Regions from separate parts of the Homo sapiens genome. Here region 1 is linked to region 2. Evidence: promoter capture Hi-C in human tissues and cell types (Jung and others, 2019). All regions are on one chromosome and are shown on one strand. The core of a region is centred on a gene start or on the middle of the fragment in contact, and the rest is flanking DNA. Distances in the headings are between cores, read along the strand shown.

Region 1 (3,972 bases), core at 756-3,255, 72 kb before region 2:
CCATCTGGGCCAAAATGGGGAGATCACATCTCCCTTCAGGCGTCATCTGACACCAGACCAAGGCTCAGCCAAGCTTTTCTGTGCTGGAAAGCCAGAAGCCAGGAAGGAGAGCCTGCTGCTCCTGGGTGCCCTCACTTTCCAGTCCTCTGCTCCTCTGTCCCCCACACCAGACTACCTGGCTCCAGCTTGCTTCTTGTCTAAGCTGAACAGAATAGAGAAGAGGGCAGGTGAAATGCCTCAAGACAGGCCTGGCATGAAAAAGTGGAACTTAGTTTGTGGCTTACCCAAGAGATTAAACATAGTCTAGTTGTATCCACGCAATTAAGATGGGAAGGTTAAGGATCCTGTATTCCAGATCAATCTGCACTCACAAAACGAGGACCGTAGTAAACGCAAAGGAATGACTCAATAGTAGCGAAATTCAGACATCCTTGACAAGCCAGTAGGGGAGATATTTCAGGCTAGGGCAGCCTCACCTGAGGCCTTCAAATCATACTATAAAGGTACCTGGCTGCCCCACCTGAGCCCAGCCTAGCCAGCTTCCCAGCTATGTCAGTTCACACAGGTGCTAGAAGGCTGGGGTAATCTGATTGGCCCAGAGAGTCATGTGTGCTACAGAACACTACCTTCGTTAACGATCAGAGTCAGGTTTGAACCTGTTCCTCCCAAACCTACGTGCTGTCCCTCAGAGAGCCCGATGATGACACACAGGGCGTGGTATGTGGCTCCGAACCTCCCCAGTGACTTAAAAAATCCAAGTGGGTTTTAAATTGCTGCTCCCAGTTGATCATACCAGAAATCGAGCTATAGAACCGCCTCAACATCATTTTTTTTCTCCCACTTTGAGCTAAGTGAACAAACTGGGAGATTTCTGCCTCACCACTTTACATAGTAAATAATCCTTTCATCTCCCCTTTGGCTGGGAAGAGCTTACTCTGTGTGGACAGGGAACCAGCAGAAGCCTCTATGTCAGCTGAGTTTTGAACAAGGCAGCGTTGAGCTGGGAATGCTCACTATCAAGTTTTTTCCCCCTTGACAACTGGATGTGGACATTGCTCAGACATACTGTATCACATTAAAACATACAATTCTGGCCAGGCACAGTGGCTCACATCTGTAATCCTAACACTTTGGGAGGCTGAGATGGGAGAATTGCTTGAACCCAAGAGTTCGAGACCAGCCTGGGCAACATAGTGAAACACCATCTCTACAAAAAAAAATCAAAAACACAAAACAAATTAGTCAGGCGTGGTGGCACTTGGGAGGTTGAGGTGGGAGGATTTCTTGAGCCCAGAAGGTGGAGTGGCAGATGGCACCACTGCTTTCCAGCCTGGGGGTCAGAGTGAGACCCCATCCAAAAAAAAAAAACAATTTTATCCCTGCCTTTCAAAGGGATTTCCAGTCTCAATGCCTCAAATTCTACATTCTAGAAGAACTTTGCCTGCCAGGCACGGTGGCTCACGCCTGTAATCCCAACACTTGGGGAGGCCAAAGTGGGTGGATCATGAGGTCAGGAGATTGAGACCATCCTGGCCAACGTGATGAAATTCCATCTCTACTAAAATACAAAAAATTAGCCAGGCAGGGTAGTGCATACTTGTAGTCCCAGCTACTCAGGAGGCTGAGGCAGGGGAATTGCTTGAACCCGGGAGGTGGAGGTTGCAGTGAGCCGAGATCGCGCCACTGCACTTCAGCCTGATGACAAAGCAAAACTCCATCTCAAAAAAATAAAATAAAAGAACTTTGTCAAACCCTGAGAGAAATAAATGCACTTGCCAAACCCCAGCATGATGTGAGCACTTTGCTCTCCAGATGCCACAAATACTCTACTGCGCTCACATGTCAATATATCACAGCCAAGTGCTGCCCAGCAAATACACAGGGCTTTGTCTCATTCTGCAGCGCTGGACGCTGGCCACGGAGCCACTGTTGCTGTGTCTGTCAGGCTCAAAGAGAGCGGTGGGGCAGGCAGGGGGCATGGGGCAGTTCGCTGCAAAGACAAAGCCAGCCCCGCATTGCTGCAGGTGGGAAACACAACCCTCCACATCCCAGCCAGGCTTTCCAGGTCAAAAAATTCTCTAGGAAGGAAGGGAAGGAGAACAAAAGAATAATCAAAAGCCACACTTCCTAGACTTAAGCAGTGAGAGACGTTTCAGATGCCAGCCACCCATTTCGGACCAAACTGGGCAGATTTGGGGTGTCTTCTCCTCTTCCACACCCGAGCACTCCTTCACTCCCTCTTCCTCAACTTCCTGCCCCAAGCAACACCCTTTTTGCCGTTCTTGCCACCCCACCTTTCTTGGGCTTCAGGTCCTCGACTTCAGAGTCTCCAAGCTTTTCCTCTGCCTCCTTTCCCACCCCAGCAGGGCAGTCCTGGGGGCTGGAATGGTGTCAATTTGAGAAGTTTGCCAGCCAACAGGGCACAGAATTTAGCTGAATTCACACTCAGCAGCTCAAGGAAAGCAGCCAAAGTGCAAAACTTCAGCAACCGTTTATTAGAGAATGTTTATTTTGTTTTGTTCTTTAACTTTTGTTTGTTTTTACCCTAAGTACAGGCTAAAACCTGAGAGATCAAGAAACTAAACAGTAATTGACAGAAGGAAAATTGGAGCACCAGTCGCTGAGGGGAAGTGTATGAAGTGATCGGTTAGTGATAAGATGGCTTATCAAGTTTCTGCCACGTGCCATGTGCCTGGCCGTGTGCTGGAGACATAATGATGGACAAGCATACTACTTCTCACTCACAGAGCTGACAGTCCGGAGCAAGAGGCAGACAGACAAGCCATTGGCCACTAATATTTTAATATGAATAGTGCTAAGAACAAAAAAGTACAGAGCAACATGAATGCGTGAGATAGCTGGGGAAGATGGGGAGTATCCAGGAAGGCTTCCAGGAGGAAATGACCTCTGAGCTGAAACCCAAAGGATGAGGAAGAAAAGCCTGCATGAAAGCCAGGTGCTGGAAAGAGAAGAGTATGTTAAAAGAGTACTGGGAAGAGCTGAGTGTGGCTGCAGAGGCCGGCTTGAGACTGCAGAGGCTGACAGTAGCTAAGTCAAAAGCAGAGACCACCAAGTGCTCCCTGGGCATTGGCTGGAGTATGAAAAGGCTGAGACATGTAGTGTTCGGAGCCACCTCCAAGACCTTTTTTTCCCTGTGTGAACCTATGTACAGTTCACGCTGGCTTACTGAAGCATTTCTGTCCAACTTTTAATTCTCCATATTCCGTGAGAGTTCAGCAAATGCTCATAAATACAAAACAATCAACAGTCCAATCCATGTCAGAGTAGAGTGAGTGGGGGACACGCCCTGACTCCCATGTTTTTTCCTGTCCTTATTTCTGCCACCAGCAAAGCCCAATCAAAGGTTGTCCACGATTACATAACCAGGCATGGCAAGTAAGCCTCAGCGGACACACAGGATCTGACCACTTCCCCTTCGGAAACTGTAAAACAACGAAAGTGGGCTGGGCACGGTGGCTCACGCCTGTAATCCCAGCACTTTGGGAGGCCAAGGCGGGGGGATCCTGGGTAAGGAGTTCGAGACCAGCCTGGCCAACATGGTGAAACCCTGTCTCTACTAAAAGAAAAATTAGCCGGGCATGGTGGCGGGCGCCTGTAATCTCAGCTATTCAAGAGGCTGAGGCAGGAGAATCACCTGAACCCAGGAGGCAGAGGTTGCAGTGAGCCAAGACCGTGTCATTGCACTCCAGCCTGGACAACAAAGCAAGACTCCATCTCAAAAAAAAAAAAGAAAAAGAAAAAAAAAGTGAGTGTTTGCAGAACATGCAGAGTGGCCTTTTTACCTGGGTTGCCGGCAAGGTCTGGACTCACCATCCAGTGGCAAGAACCCGATTAATCCAAGGTGTTTATTTCCTTTTGATAAACAGTAACATGTGATTTTCCATTTTTAGACACAATAATTACTTCAAACTAAGAGCAGTCACCAAAATCAGTACTTAGAGGGAGTGGTTT
Region 2 (4,066 bases), core at 329-2,828:
ATATCTGATATATTTGCACTGAAAATGCTTAGTCAAAACTCATTCTCTTTCCCACAAAGTAAACTCGTGAATTTTATAAAGTCACAGAATAGCTCTGTATTTTTTTTCACAACTACATGTAAATCTGTATTTATCTCAAAATAAAATCACCGAAATTGAATAAAACAACATGGGAAGCTCCCTTTTAGAGATGGGGGCCACCACCAGAGTGACAGAATCGCAGGGCCTTGGTTTCTCAGAACCGAAGGATGCTCCCCATCTCCCAACTCACCTTGCCGGCAGGAAATTTGCGGAGAAATTCAGGGGTGCGGTTGGTTTGGCCAAAATGGAAGTGGGGTGGTGCGGAGAGCACGCGGACCTGAGCCCCGCTGTACTGAGCAGCGATGAGAGCCTTGAAGGCCCTCCAGTTTTCAGGATACGTGTACAGGGTCTATGGGAGAAAGAGAGGGACAAAATTAATGAGTAGAAGGGTCCCAGTCCTTAATGCCACTCTCCAGGATGACTTTCCTGAATAATCCCAATGTATTCAACTCACCCTTTTACTTCCTCTGGTGAACCAAGTCCTTTAGTACTTGTCATATGTAATCAGAATCCTCCGAAATACCAAGAACAGAACTACACACCAACTGCTAAATAAAGCTTGTTGACAGATTTGACCTTCCCTAAGGACACCTCTGGAAGTATTCTCTTCCTCTCAAATCTATCTCCAAGAAATCCAGAACTTCTAGCTCCATCAGACTCCATCTGCCTACAAACATACTCTCCTCCCTTCCCGGAGCCCTCGCTTCATTCATTGATGGTTCCGAGCGCCTGCCTACTCTACTGCTCAGCTGCTCACCGCTTCAAAAGCATCGTCCTGTCTCTAAGGCACGCACGACGATCGAGAGATTTCTAGTTCCCCTCAGACTAGCCAGAGATAGGGGATGGCATGCCGTCTTCTTAAATCAACTCCTCTCTCTCAAAAAGCCTTTCTTTCCGTGTCGCGAATATCATCCCTCCGGTCCTGTCCCGCAGCGAGTTCCCCGGCGTTGGGCTTCTCTATTATGCCGGCCAGCGGAGTCCAATTGGTCTGACTTCACTGTCCGGAGAATCCTCTCGCTCCCAAACCTCCCTGAGAGACGACCTTTAACCGTGCCAGCCGGACCTGCCTACAAAGACCCTCCTCTTCAACCTGTCCCCTGTGTTACTCCACAAAACGGACACAGAAGTTCGTCAACCTGCCCAGATACCACGCCTCAAAGCGGCAACAGAGCCGAACCCCTTTCTCAGGCTTCGGACGGCCCAGACCCGGCATCTCTTTTCTCCTCTTCCCCAGACCCTTCCACCTCTGGCCTCCGAGAGCCCCAGCCTCAGTTCCCCTCCAGGCCCTAGGAACCCTACTCTCCAGCAGTACAGTCTGTAGACCCCCGAATCAGTTCCCCACTCAACCTCAGAACTCCTCTGGCGCCGACTGGCCCCACTCGGGCAAAGGATGGCGGTGGATAGGATGACCCGAACCACCAGAGCCAGCAAACTTACCCCAGCCGCCATGGTGATTCCGCAAAGAAAGGGGGTGGGGTTCTCGGCGCTGCCGCAAAGTAAGCCGCCCGGGAGAGAAGGGAGGGGGAAAGAGGAGAGCCGTGGAGAAACAGCAGCCGGAAAGCGAGGACGAAACAGAAGACATACGTACGACAGTTCGGTATCCAGTGGCGCTGAATTGGAAAAAGAACTGGGTGGGTGGGGCCTGCTGGCCAGCGCGGAAAAAGCTCGGGCCTGCGCATTGGAGCTCTTGACTGGCCCGCCCCCCAGGTGCAGCGGGCCAATCGGAGTCTAGACGTGGAGGTAGACAGCGTGGAGGGCGGGGAAGTTGTGAGAACCCGCTGGAAAAGCCGCGAGTTCTTGGCTACGTGGCGCGGTTGTTGGCCCGGCGCGGCCAGTGCTACTGGGGGCGTCCCTCTCTGGCCCTCCCAGGGACAAGTGACTTGATGGTAGATTTTGCCAAGCCCCTCACATGATTCTATGAAACTCATGGGAGCGAGGAACAGCTGCTGCGCGGAGGTGGCAGTGTGTGTGCTAAATCCCTTTAGTTCCTGCTCTGCTTTTCCTCCAGAAAGGGATGAGCGTCTAACAGGGGCCCCGGTCTGAACCCGCCTGCCAAAGTGAGGTTTGCTCACATCCAACCCCTGACAGCTCCAGGGTGCTGTTACTGCGAGCAGGGCACCGGCCCTCCGGCCCGAAGCAGGGCAGGGACATGAGGGAGAACGCGCCCTGTCCCTCCCACCTCCTCCGGACTCGGCCCCTGGAGGGGCTGACGCTGGAAGACCTGACATCGTCGCTTCTGATGTTCATGGCTTTTGACCCATGTTCAGGTTTGAAATCTCTTACCCAGTTTAAGAACGGGATGAACTCTCCTCGTTTAAAGGAGAGAATGAAGAACGCTGAACGCAAATCTCCGTCCTTGTGCGCATAAATCTGAGGCGACAGGAAGAATGTGGAGGCAAACCTGGCTCTTCTCAGTACTGCTGGAGCCACCCACCGCTCTGCCATTCAGGAACTCTGCGCGGGTGCCAGGTGCCACGCGCGGTGCTGCCCCCGCACTCCCCTCGAGCTGTGCGAACTGTAGGAAGGAGAAGCTGGTGGGGTGGAGAGCAACAGGGAGAGACCCATGTTCGGGGTCAGACGGGAGCAGCTGCAGGAAGTTCTGGGGGAGGGGAAGGGGGATTATGACCAGATGGAAATGAAAGGAAACGGGAGACTGTATTAATAAACTAGCAGCTTTATTGCCCTTCAGGGGCCATGTCTTCACTTGAGATGTCGAATTGCTTGAGGGAGGAAAACCTGTAAGAAATGATGGAGATCAGGGAACAGGCCTTGGGGATCCTGGAGCGGGGTCACAGTGAGCATTCGGTCAGCCGGGGAGACAGACGCCACAAAGCTCAGCAGGGGCTCAGTTTCTGGCCTCTCTTCGCCACCACTCAGTCCTTTCAGCTCCTGGGTGACCTGAGCCTCAGTCGCCAGCCACCCTGCTCTTGTGCCAGCGCCACCTCCAGCTCCCTCCTTGGTTTGCTGCTGCAAGCGTCTACGGGCTCGCCGCCGCCCTTGCCACACTCGGTGCCACAAGGCACAGCGCCAGCTCGCTGAGGAGGGCAGGGATGCCCCCTTCCCTGCCTCACCCTGAGACCATTCTTGGGCTGCCTCATGTCCCTTGGGCCCCCGCTCTGCCAGGGCTGCGTGGCTGGGCTGCCCCTCTTCTCCAGGGGCTCCATGCTTTCCAGTGGTCAGGGGCAGGTCCCCTGGCTGCCCAGGGCTCTGCATGGCCCAGTCCTGCACCATCTCTCCAACCTCTATAACCATCTCTTCTACCCTGTCTTCCCCACCGTCCCCTGCACATCCCTGCTGCTCCTCTTTCCCCTCCTCACAGCAGTTTTTCTGTCCATCTACTTTGAGTCTTTTGCTTGTCCCTCCCTGAGAGGACTCCCCAGTTCCACCTCCTTCTGACCGCGTTCTCTTGGTTGCCTGTTCTATATGGCACCCCAGTGCTTCCCTGAATACCTGCACCAGGGCAGCAGTGAGCTGGGTGAAGGGTGCAAGGGGTAAAGGGATCGGCGTAGCAGAGAGCAGGGAGCTGGGGGAGCTGGGCTGCAGAAGAGGGAGCAGCCCCCAGTCCCGACCCCGGGAGGAACGGCGCTGGTACTGGAGGCTTCGGCAGTAATTGGCTGCTGCTCGGCAGCAGTTCTGTAGGCGCCCAGCCACCCGGCTGGTCACATTGGCTGCGACATTGTGACTCAGGTCAAAAGGGTCCTGGAGATTCAGGGGGCCAAGGCGCAGACCCTCCCAGAGATTAGAAGGCAGGCCCCCTGCCACAGGCAGTGCCTGACCCTCCCGCAGGGACAGCAGGGAGCCACGAAGATCCCAACAAGATACACAGGAGAAGAACTGGGCTAGCAGGGAACCTGGAGGAGGAGGAAGAGTGGGGAAAGGGGGGTCACTTAGAGGCCAGAACTGATACAGGTCCTGCACCAGAGCCATTTCCTTAGCAGGACTTTTTCCCTTCCAAGGGGCTCAGCAGAGTCCCAGGAAGCTAGGC

Evidence for each region. The method cuts DNA at HindIII sites, captures the fragments that hold promoters and counts their contacts. A contact is called where the count stands out against the background at its distance.
Region 1: a fragment that was not itself captured here is called in contact with the fragment with the promoter of EEF1G in region 2 in 3 of the 25 tissues and cell types used here (bladder, liver and neural progenitor cells).

Annotation. Positions count from the first base shown.
Region 1 is chr11:62,499,845-62,503,816 of GRCh38, forward strand. It overlaps a transcript of AHNAK not described here. Among named protein-coding and RNA genes, the nearest start is that of AHNAK, 45 kb to the right of the region's middle. The HindIII fragment of the contact is 6,767 bases long and covers 1-3,972 here.
Region 2 is chr11:62,572,313-62,576,378 of GRCh38, forward strand. EEF1G (eukaryotic translation elongation factor 1 gamma) reads right to left here and starts at 1,579. Exons shown (of 10, transcript NM_001404.5): 1 at 1,519-1,579; 2 at 272-430. The coding sequence starts at 1,530. It overlaps TUT1 (terminal uridylyl transferase 1, U6 snRNA-specific), which reads right to left. Exons shown (of 9, transcript NM_022830.3): 9 at 2,740-3,932. The coding sequence ends at 2,782. RefSeq lists enhancers at 1,548-1,747, 1,703-2,664, 2,448-2,507, 2,665-3,626. The HindIII fragment of the contact is 13,406 bases long and covers 1-4,066 here.